Regions from separate parts of the Homo sapiens genome. Here region 1 is linked to region 2. The links are contacts of gene promoters, found by promoter capture Hi-C in blood cells and fetal thymus (Javierre and others, 2016). All regions are on one chromosome and are shown on one strand. Each heading gives the region's core, a stretch centred on a gene start or on the middle of the fragment in contact. The rest is flanking DNA. Distances are from core to core; before and after follow the strand shown. Region 1 overlaps SYNJ1 (synaptojanin 1). Region 2 holds the start of URB1 (URB1 ribosome biogenesis factor).

The links. The method cuts DNA at HindIII sites, captures the fragments that hold promoters and counts their contacts. A CHiCAGO score of 5 or more calls a contact.
Region 1: a fragment that was not itself captured here is called in contact with the fragment with the promoter of URB1 in region 2 in 1 of 17 cell types (megakaryocytes); the score reaches 5.1 in megakaryocytes.

Annotation. Positions count from the first base shown.
Region 1 is chr21:32,664,304-32,668,805 of GRCh38, forward strand. SYNJ1 (synaptojanin 1) reads right to left here. Exons shown (of 33, transcript NM_203446.3): 16 at 2,130-2,270; 17 at 1,640-1,832; 18 at 610-768. It overlaps LOC124905011 (a long non-coding RNA gene), which reads left to right. Exons shown (of 2, transcript XR_007067845.1): 2 at 1-413. Among named protein-coding and RNA genes, the nearest start is that of CFAP298-TCP10L, 54 kb to the left of the region's middle. The HindIII fragment of the contact is 779 bases long and covers 1,605-2,383 here.
Region 2 is chr21:32,390,750-32,395,569 of GRCh38, forward strand. URB1 (URB1 ribosome biogenesis factor) reads right to left here and starts at 2,263. Exons shown (of 39, transcript NM_014825.3): 1 at 2,020-2,263. The coding sequence starts at 2,161. URB1-AS1 (URB1 antisense RNA 1 (head to head)) reads left to right here and starts at 2,384. Exons shown (of 1, transcript NR_026845.1): 1 at 2,384-3,211. RefSeq lists enhancers at 1,529-2,311, 2,171-2,465, 2,312-3,093, 2,616-2,865. The HindIII fragment of the contact is 11,778 bases long and covers 1-4,105 here.

The DNA.
Region 1 (4,502 bases), core at 744-3,243, 270 kb after region 2:
ATAAGGGAGGAGACCACCCCTCATATTGTCTTATGCCCAATTTCTGCCTCCAAAGAAAGAAGTGAAAACTAAAAGGCAGAAATGGAATCACAGGCAGATAGCCCAGCACTGTGCCCTGGGCCTGGTAGTTAAAAATCAACCCTTGACCTAACCGCTTGTGCTATCTATAGATTTCAGACATTGTATGGAAAAGCATCGTGAAAATCCCTGTCCTGTTCCATTCTGATTACCAGTGCATGCAGCCCCCAGTCCCATACCCCCTGCTTGCTCAATCGATCACGACCCTCTCACATGGACTCCCTTAGAGCTGTAAGCCCTTAAAAGGGACAGGAATTGCTCACTCGGGGAGCTCGGTTTTTGGAGACGTGAGTCCGCTGCTGCTCCCAGCTGAATAAAGCCCTTTCCTTCTACAACTTGGTGTCTGAAGGGTTCTTGTCTGCAGCTCATCCTGCTACACTTTAAGGAAAGATAATTCTATTATCTGTTTACCTACAGATGCATATTTAAGTACAAAAAGACCCCAAGAAAATTTTAAAACATCTTGATTTAAAAAGGCATGTTTCACGACCCAAAATCTTAATGCAAGTATTTTCTCAAGTATAGATATACCTGTCCAGCATTTTTCTGATTGATAAGTTGATCTCCTGCTATAAGAGAATCCCAATTTTGCTGTCTTATGAGCTCTTTAACTTCTTCGTTAGGGAGATCGATTCGATAGTTGAAATCACCACACCAAAATACATAGTCATGGGAAAATAGCATCCTTCCCTGAAAGCAATGAGATAGAATTTTAAATTCAAAACAATCAATGTTCAAAAATGTTTTACAACTATTTCTTTGCCTGAGATATGCTTGTCTCCTCCCATGTCCTGTTTCTTTGACCCAACAGTAATAACACATGTGAAACGAAAATAAATCTCAGGACCCCAAAATCACTAAGCCCAGAGAAAAATCAAGCCAGGAACTATGACAGGTAAACCTGCCTCCCATTTTACTCCTAAATAAGATAGCTCCAAAGATAAGAAGCTACATAACTCCCTCACAATTTGCCCACAGGAAATTCCTTGTGGACAAAGTATAGACTGAACTCAAAGTCATCCCTCTGAGACTCACCTGAGACAAATGCACATCTGACTGCTTCCTCTGCCCTATTGTTTATGCAAAAATGCAGATTCACTGAGCCACACTAAATTGTGTATTCAGTGGAAGGCTGATCTAGGACTTAAAAGAATGCAACCTTTTGCGTCTTATCTACTTCTAACCTGGAAGCCCCCACTTCGAGTTGTCCTGCCTTACCAGACCAAACCAGTGTACATCATACACATACTGACTGATGTCTCAGGTCTCCCTAAAATGTATAAAAGCAAACTGTACCCCCGACCACCTTGGGCACATGTCATTCTGAATTCTGGAGGCTATATCATGGCCACATCCTTAACCTTGGCAAAATAAACTTTCTAAATTGACTGAGCCCTGTCTCAGATATTTTGGGTTAATACTCATGAAATATCTATTTAGGTGAATATTCTTAATGTTTCTAGGAACTATCTTAAATTTCCAAAAACATTGATGTAGAATTTGGGGCAAATTAAAATATATTTCAAAGCTTTATCTTCAAGAACAAGCAGCAAGAGCTTACCATAGGAAAACTCAATTTTCGTGCTATTTCTATAAAATCTTCATTTCTTTCTTTGACTTGTGACTGCCCTGCAGCAAAGTGGCTACAGACGAAGCAAAGGCTGGTTGTATGGAAGAGCATTCGGATTGCAACTGCTCCCTTATTTCCAGTTGCACCTCCCATTCCAGTCTTCACAGTATCAACTGCAACATCCCTTTGAAACAAAGAATTCTAAATCGCAGATTTGAAATTTCAAGAGTTCCATGTGCATAGGAAATGAGGAATATACATAATCATTTAAGTACACATGGTATGGTACTTTGAGGGCAAGCCTTTGAAATAGTACAGTGAAGCTATTGGTGAGTCTTTAATCAAAACCCCCAAAACCCCATTTTAAAACAAGAACTATGGATAGTTTTTGTTTGAAGAACTGAAACAATAAACATTCTAGGCTTTTTTCTTGTTATTTAATGGTAGGAAGTAGCCTTAGAGGAGTGTTCTGTTTACTGACCTGATAAAAGGAGCATGCTGTGGTCTGATAAAAACAAACAAACAGACGCCCACCAACTGTTCAGAAGCCAGCAGCACATACTTGTTGTCTCTGGAGATTGTCTTCTGAAGTTCTACAGCCCAGAGCTTCTGATTTGTTGTGCTACAAGAAAATATTAAAAAGAGAATTTTTTAAAAAGGTATTGACAATAGCCTATTTTATGACAATTGTCAATTATACCTTTATCTACCCAAATATCCTAAGACTCTGAAGGAAGCTTAGGCTGTTTTTGTTTCCTTTAAAAAGGAAAATCTACAATTTAGCCAAAAGAAAACCACATTTCAAAATCTAATCTATTACTTCTTTACAAAGAAAATATAAAGACATTAAATGGCTACTCACTGGGTGAGTAAATTCAAACTTATACATTTTACTTTTTCCTTAAGTATTCATTAAGATCACAGAGAAGTATAGAAGTATCTGTGGGAGATTGGTTTCAGGACCTCCCATGATACCAAAATCCAAGGATACTCAAGTCCCTTACATAAAATGGAGTAATACTTGCATATAACCCATGTAAATCTCTCGTATACTTTAAATCATCTCTAGATTACCTATAATACCTAATACAATGTAATTAGTTGTTATATTGTAATGTTTAGGGAATAACGATACAAAAAAGTCTGCAAGTAAAAAAGACAAAAAAAAAAAGGCTACACATGTTCAGTATAGACACAATTTTAAAAAATATTTAATATTTTGATGAGTTGAATCCAAAGATGTCAGACCCATGGATAAGGACAGCTAACTGTGCACATATATGTGACTATATGTGCTTCCAAATACATTTCCCCACTTTTCAAAATTTTTCTAAATTATAACTAATGTCTTTTTAAAAAATCTTGCTATGGGAAATTAGAAGACATAATCATTAAACAAACCACCATATACCCATTTCAAAATTACCAACATTTTGCCAATCTATTTTTTCCATCCTCTTCACCTTATCACATTTAAACATTAATAATTCCTTAATATCATCTAATAGTTTATACTTAAAGTTCCCCATTTATTAAAAAAAAATCTTCTAACAGTTGGTTTGTTTCTTTAAAAAGGGTCCAAACAAGGTCTACATATTGCATTTGCTTGTCATGTCTCCTAATCTCTCTTTTTTTCTTGAGATGGGGTCTCACTCTGTCACCCAGGGCTGGAGTGCTGTGGCAGGATGTCGGTTCACTGCAACCTCTGCCTGAGCTCAAGCGATCCTCCCACCTCAGCCCCGCAAGTAGCTGAAACTCATTCCTCATCTTCTCAATGAACCTTATCTTGATCATTCATTTGAGACTTCCAACACTTCCCTGTGTCCCTATAGTTGATCTCCTTTTCCTCTCTTTTCCATTGCACTTTTCTAACATGCTGTATAATTTACTTATTGTTGTTATTGTTCACTGTCCGTTTCTTCCCACTAGAATACGAAGTCCATGAAGATAGGGATTTTTGTCTGTTTGATTCATTGGAGGTACTTAAGAGTGGTACTCAGTAGGTACTGCTTAAATAAATGAATAAATATTCACTACTTTATTAAAGAAGAATATATATGTGTGTGTGTGTGTGTGTGTGTGTGTGTGTGTGTGTGTGCATGTGTGTATATATATATACATATACATATTTGAGACAGAGTCTTGCTCTGTCACTCAGGCCGGAGTGCGGTGGTGCGATCTCCACTCACTGCAACCTCCGTCTCCCAGGTTCAAGCGATTCTCCCTGCCTCAGCCTCCTGAGTAGCTGGGATTACAGGCACGGGGCACCACGTCCAGCTGATTTTTTTGTATTTTTAGTAGAGATAGGGTTTCACTATATTGGCCAGGCTGGTCTCAAACTCCTGACCTCAAGTGATCCACCTGCCTTGGCCTCCCAAAGCATTGGGATTACAGGCATGAGCCACCACACCCAGCCTAAAGAATTTGATTAAACCTAGCCTAAAGAAGAATTTGATTAAACTCTATTTAGACAAACAATTGATCCATGCACTTAGTACTAGGAACCCTCAGAGTTATAGTCTAGTTTAGGACCTGAATATATTTTTCAGGAAACATAATCAAACAACAAAATGGGTGAAGTTGATTTCTTTCCAATTTTCCTGATGTGAATTGTTTTTCATTTTGCCTAATAAAATATTTGTCACTTGCAAGATTGATGACTATTTCAGCCTATAATTTTCTCCTAAAAATCTTTAAAAATGTCATAAAAGATGGGAAACTGCTGAAATTTAAAAGCAAGCATACTTTGTTAAAATAAAACACTGAAGTTTTAAGCCTCACTCATATAATTTGTATTTATAATATGGATTCAGAACAGCGTTCCCAAAGTGTGATCTGGAGACATCTTTGAGGG
Region 2 (4,820 bases), core at 1,013-3,512:
CACTTTTACACTGTTGGTGGGACTGTAAACTAGTTCAACCATTGTGGAAGTCAGTGTGGCGATTCCTCAGGGATCTAGAACTAGAAATACCATTTGACCCAGTCATCCCATTACTGGGTATATACCCAAAGGATTATAAATCATACTGCTATCAAGACACATGCACACGTACGTTTACTGTGGCACTATTCACAATAGCAAAGACTTGGAACCAACCCAAATGTCCAACAATGATAGACTGGATTAAGACAATGTGGCACATATACACCATGGAATACTATGCAGCCATAAAAAACGATGAGTTCATGTCCTTTGTAGGGACATGGATGAAGCTGGAAACCATCATTCTCAGCAAACTATCGCAAGGACAAAAAACCAAACACCGCATGTTCTCACTCATAGGTGGGAACTGAACAATGAGAACACATGGACACAGGAAGGGGAACATCACACACCGGGGCCTGTTGTCGGGTCGGGGGGAGGGGGGAGGGACAGCATTAGGAGATATACCTAAGGTTAAATGACGAGTTAATGGGTGCAGGACACCAACATGGCACATGTATACATATGTAACAAAGGGGCACGTTGTGCACATGTACCCTAAAACTTAAAGTATGATTAAAAAAAAAAGAAAAGAAAAGCCACTTCCTCAGGGGAGCCTTCTTTGAGCTCCCAGATTAGATCCAAGGTCTGTTAAACACCCTCAGGCACCATGTACCTCTCCTTTGGAAAACTCGTGCTTGAAACTGTATGTATGTGATTTTACTGACCAATATCTGCCTGCCCCACTCGACTGTTTGTAAACCCCACAATGGCAGAGGCTTTTTGACATTTTTATTCATCACTTTATCTCTACCGTAGCAAATAATAGCCTCTAGTAATACTTAATGAATTCGGAAATAAATAACTCTATGCTAACTAAGTATCATCTTCCTAGCTGTGACTAGCAAGTACAGGTATAGGTATCAAAGTTTAAAAACAGGCCAGGTGTGGTGGCTCATACCTATACTCCCAGCCCTTTGAGAAGACAAGGTGGGAAGATTGCTTGAGACTGGGAGTTCGAGGGCAGCCTGGACAACATAGTGAGATTCCATCTCTACAAAAAGTAAAAAAAAAAAAAAAAACATAGCTGGGCATGGTGTTGTGCACCTACAATCTCAGCTACTTGGGAGGCTGAGGTGGGAGGACAGCTTAAGCCCAGAAGTTCAAGGCTGCAGTGAGCTATGATAGTGCCACTGCACTTCAGCCTGGGCAACAGAGCAAGACCCTGTCGTTTAAAAAAAAAAATGAGGACAAAAATTGGAAGTTGAAGATATTTTGGCCATTAATTTAATCGTTTATTTAACCTGGGAGAAAAACTGCCACTGTTTTATTTTAGAGCAATGCTTCCACATGGCAACACGTTCAATTGCGTTTTTCCCAAACCATGTTACTTTCCAAACGATTACAAGTAGTCGCGAAGGGTGGTCACACTTTACAAAAAGTGTAATTAAATTATAGAGTCGGCTACATCTCAGTCACTGGCCCATTCCTGGTCAACTGACAAGTAGCTGTGGTGGCTTCTAGTAGCTTGTTACAAGTCATCAAGTCAGTATGAGTGTTGGGGGATGGAAGCTATTGAAAACGGTGCTGACGGCCCAAGGAGTAGCAAACTGTCTCATGAACCGTCCTGAGCCGACTCAGTAAGGACTCAATAGAGAAGGACACTTCATTTACTTCCCTGACAACTGCAATAAAGAGGTTTTAGAGCTCGCTGAGGGATGCTGCCTGGGCAAGGGAAATAAATGTGTTGTAACATGAAACGGTCCCAATCAAGCAAGTCGGGGCCCTCTCGCTGTCGCCGACAGTCCAGAGCAAGGAAGTACACAGCAGTCCTGAACCTCAGTTTTCTGCAAACCAGAGGCTTGCCACTGAGCCTATGTGACCCGAAAGCTGCAGAAAGGAGAGGCTGTGCCCGGCACACGGAGGCCGCCTCGCCAGCCTGTGCTCCCGACCCTGCGCCTGCCGCCCCGGACTCACCTGGCCCGGGGCCCTGCGGGTCCTTCAGCTGAGCCTTGAACCGCACGCCCGTGAGCTCTTCTTTGCGGGCGCGCTTGGCTGCACCCGCGGAGGAAGCCGCGCCGTCCTGGCCGCCCGAGGCCTTCCTCTTGGGGACCCCCATGGCCGAGAGGGCGGAAGCGCGACGGAAACGACACACCTGAGGGGACCCGGCAGGAGCACTGGCACAGACAGCAGACACGCGCTTCAGGCCCACATGGCGCAGGAAGAGGCGGGGCTGGCGGAAGAGGCGGGGCTGGCGGAAGAGGCGGGGCTCGGGGAAAGGCCGGCGGAAGGGGCCGACCCGCGCGAGGCTGGGACCGGCGGAAGGGGCGTGGCCTGCAGAAGGGGCGGGGCGATAGGGATCCAGAGTCTTGGGGATCCAGAGTCTTGGGGCTCCATGTGAGTTTGCTGTACCGGTTGTCCCGGTCACGGCATGGGGCGAGCGGACACTCCACGACACCCCCCGCCCCCGGCTGCAGGGTTTGGGGTCCACCGGGGCGCATTTCTGATCCCAGTGGCTCTTCGGGTGCTCTTGGCCGGAAGAACTCCCAGACCTTTCACTCCTGGCCTGGCCGATCCACGAAGACTCGGGCCCCGGCGCGTCCAAGCAGCACAATGAGTAGTTCTTGACCCGAGGTCGCCCTGAAGGTGTCGCATGAAGAGCTTGCTTCACACACAACAGGATTCGATACTTTGCCAATTCAAGGCCCTGGTGGCTGGCCGGGAAGGTGGATTCGCCTTGGCTAGGTGCCAGGCAGGTCCGCCTGTGCGGGTGCCCCTGACTTCGACCCCTAGCTTATGTCACAGCCCGAACCAGATCGACTGGTCTGGTAGCAGCCTGTCACTCCAGACTGTCCTCCACCCCAGACTTCCGCAAACTGATGGGCTCTTTGCGCCGTGCAGGGTGGGAGGAGAAGACCAAACGAAGTAACGTCTGTAAAACCCCTTCCTGGACAGCGTAAGGCCTCCACATCTAAGTTCCTGTCATTAAAATGGAGACAGCAAAGCCGACCCTATCCAGTCCTTGGGACTGTTATGAACAGAAAATGATGCAATGTATGAAAAACTGCTTTGAGGAGAAAAACAACACAGTGTGTTTTTGGAAGATGTGATTGATTTGTAAACCGCATTAAATGCTCTGAAATAAAATGAAAGTAAAAATAAGTAAAAACAGGCTGGTACATATTTTAATACGACTTCATCGATACTTAGGTATGTGTCCAAATAAATCATGAACCAGCGCATTAGATAAGTAACTTGGTGATTACTGAAATTCTCCATCAGGTTGTCCTCTAGTCTAAGAAAATTGTGTTTCATATTCTGTAAGCAGATGTGTTTTGAACATCTGAGGATGTGGGCTTTTGTGGCCTGTTGGGGTCTCAGAGTTTCTAGTAGAAAAAGCACGTGTGTTGACGCTGAGCCTCTGTCCCGACAAGATGATTGTGCCTGTGGAGATGTCTATGTTGTAGGCAGGTCAGAGAGAGGGTGTCACCCCTAGCAGATATGAGCTAATGCAGCAATGTTAAGAGAGGGGAATATGCTCAAAAAGTCATCTGTAAAAGGCAACACTCATTAGTGAATACAGACTTAATTCTGACTGATTATCCACACTGGTCCTCTTCTTTGGTTAATCGCTAACCACCAACTTTGTTTTCTGCCATGGTGGTCCCAACCAAAAAGTTATCAGAAAGAGTTAGGAAACAGTCAAAAGCCCTGAGTTCAGTTTCTGCCTGTGTGACCTTGGGCAAATTACCATCCCTCTGTGCTGGTTTGCTTTACAAACAATTAAAGAGCATGAGGAACTTCCCAGGATTATCCAGCTAGTAACTGGTGGAGCCAGGACTCACCCAGTGTATCCTAGTCCCAAATTAAAAACAAAGAAACAGAAGTTGGCAGTGCCCATTTACAGCCTTAGCCAGAGATGTATGGATGGCAAGTGTGGCTCAGAAGTGCATTTGGATGTTTTAGACTAAGTTAATGCCATGAATCATTGATGCTGGGTTAACCCTTTGTTCAGATATGAGGCTCACCAACCTCTGGATAGTGACTTGTCTTTCCATATCAAAGCTTTGTATTATTTGCCTCCAGGAGCATTCTGGTTTGTTGCAGACTATGTGGTACTGCTCCTAGGACATTCTAAGCTGAGGAAAAAAGCCCGAGAGCTTTTGTACTTGTTCCCTCTCTTTGAAACTCTTTGCCCAGAGCTCAAGTGGCTCAGATGTGGACTTTTCCTGTACATACCTCACTCTCTGTCTCCCGACCTTTCTTGATTGGGCCTACTTTATAAAGACACTCACTAATTACATCTGAGGGCTCCACCCTCATGAGCTAGTCACCTCACAAAAGGCCTCCCACAACCAAATATCACACTTGGGATGGGGTTTCAACATAATGAATTTGAGGGGGACACAAACGTTCAAACCATAGCACTTTCCCAACATGAAGATGATTTTTCAGTTAAGTTCTAACAATCTTTTCAGAAACAGATAATTCTCACCTTGTGCCGTTAGTTCCACAAAATAAAAAATAAAGTATCCCAACATCTTTTACGAGGCTCATATAACCTTAAATACAGAACAAGCTAAGGATAACACAAAGTATGAAAATGATGAACTTATTTCAAGTATGGATATAAATGTGTGTAAATAGAATATTAGTTAACTGAATACAAAACAGCACTTGAAAAAAACACAAGAAATACAAGGAAAGAATATCTTGCTTATATAACTCACCACAATAATGGATTAAAGGAGAAAAATCCGTTATTATTTCAATAGATG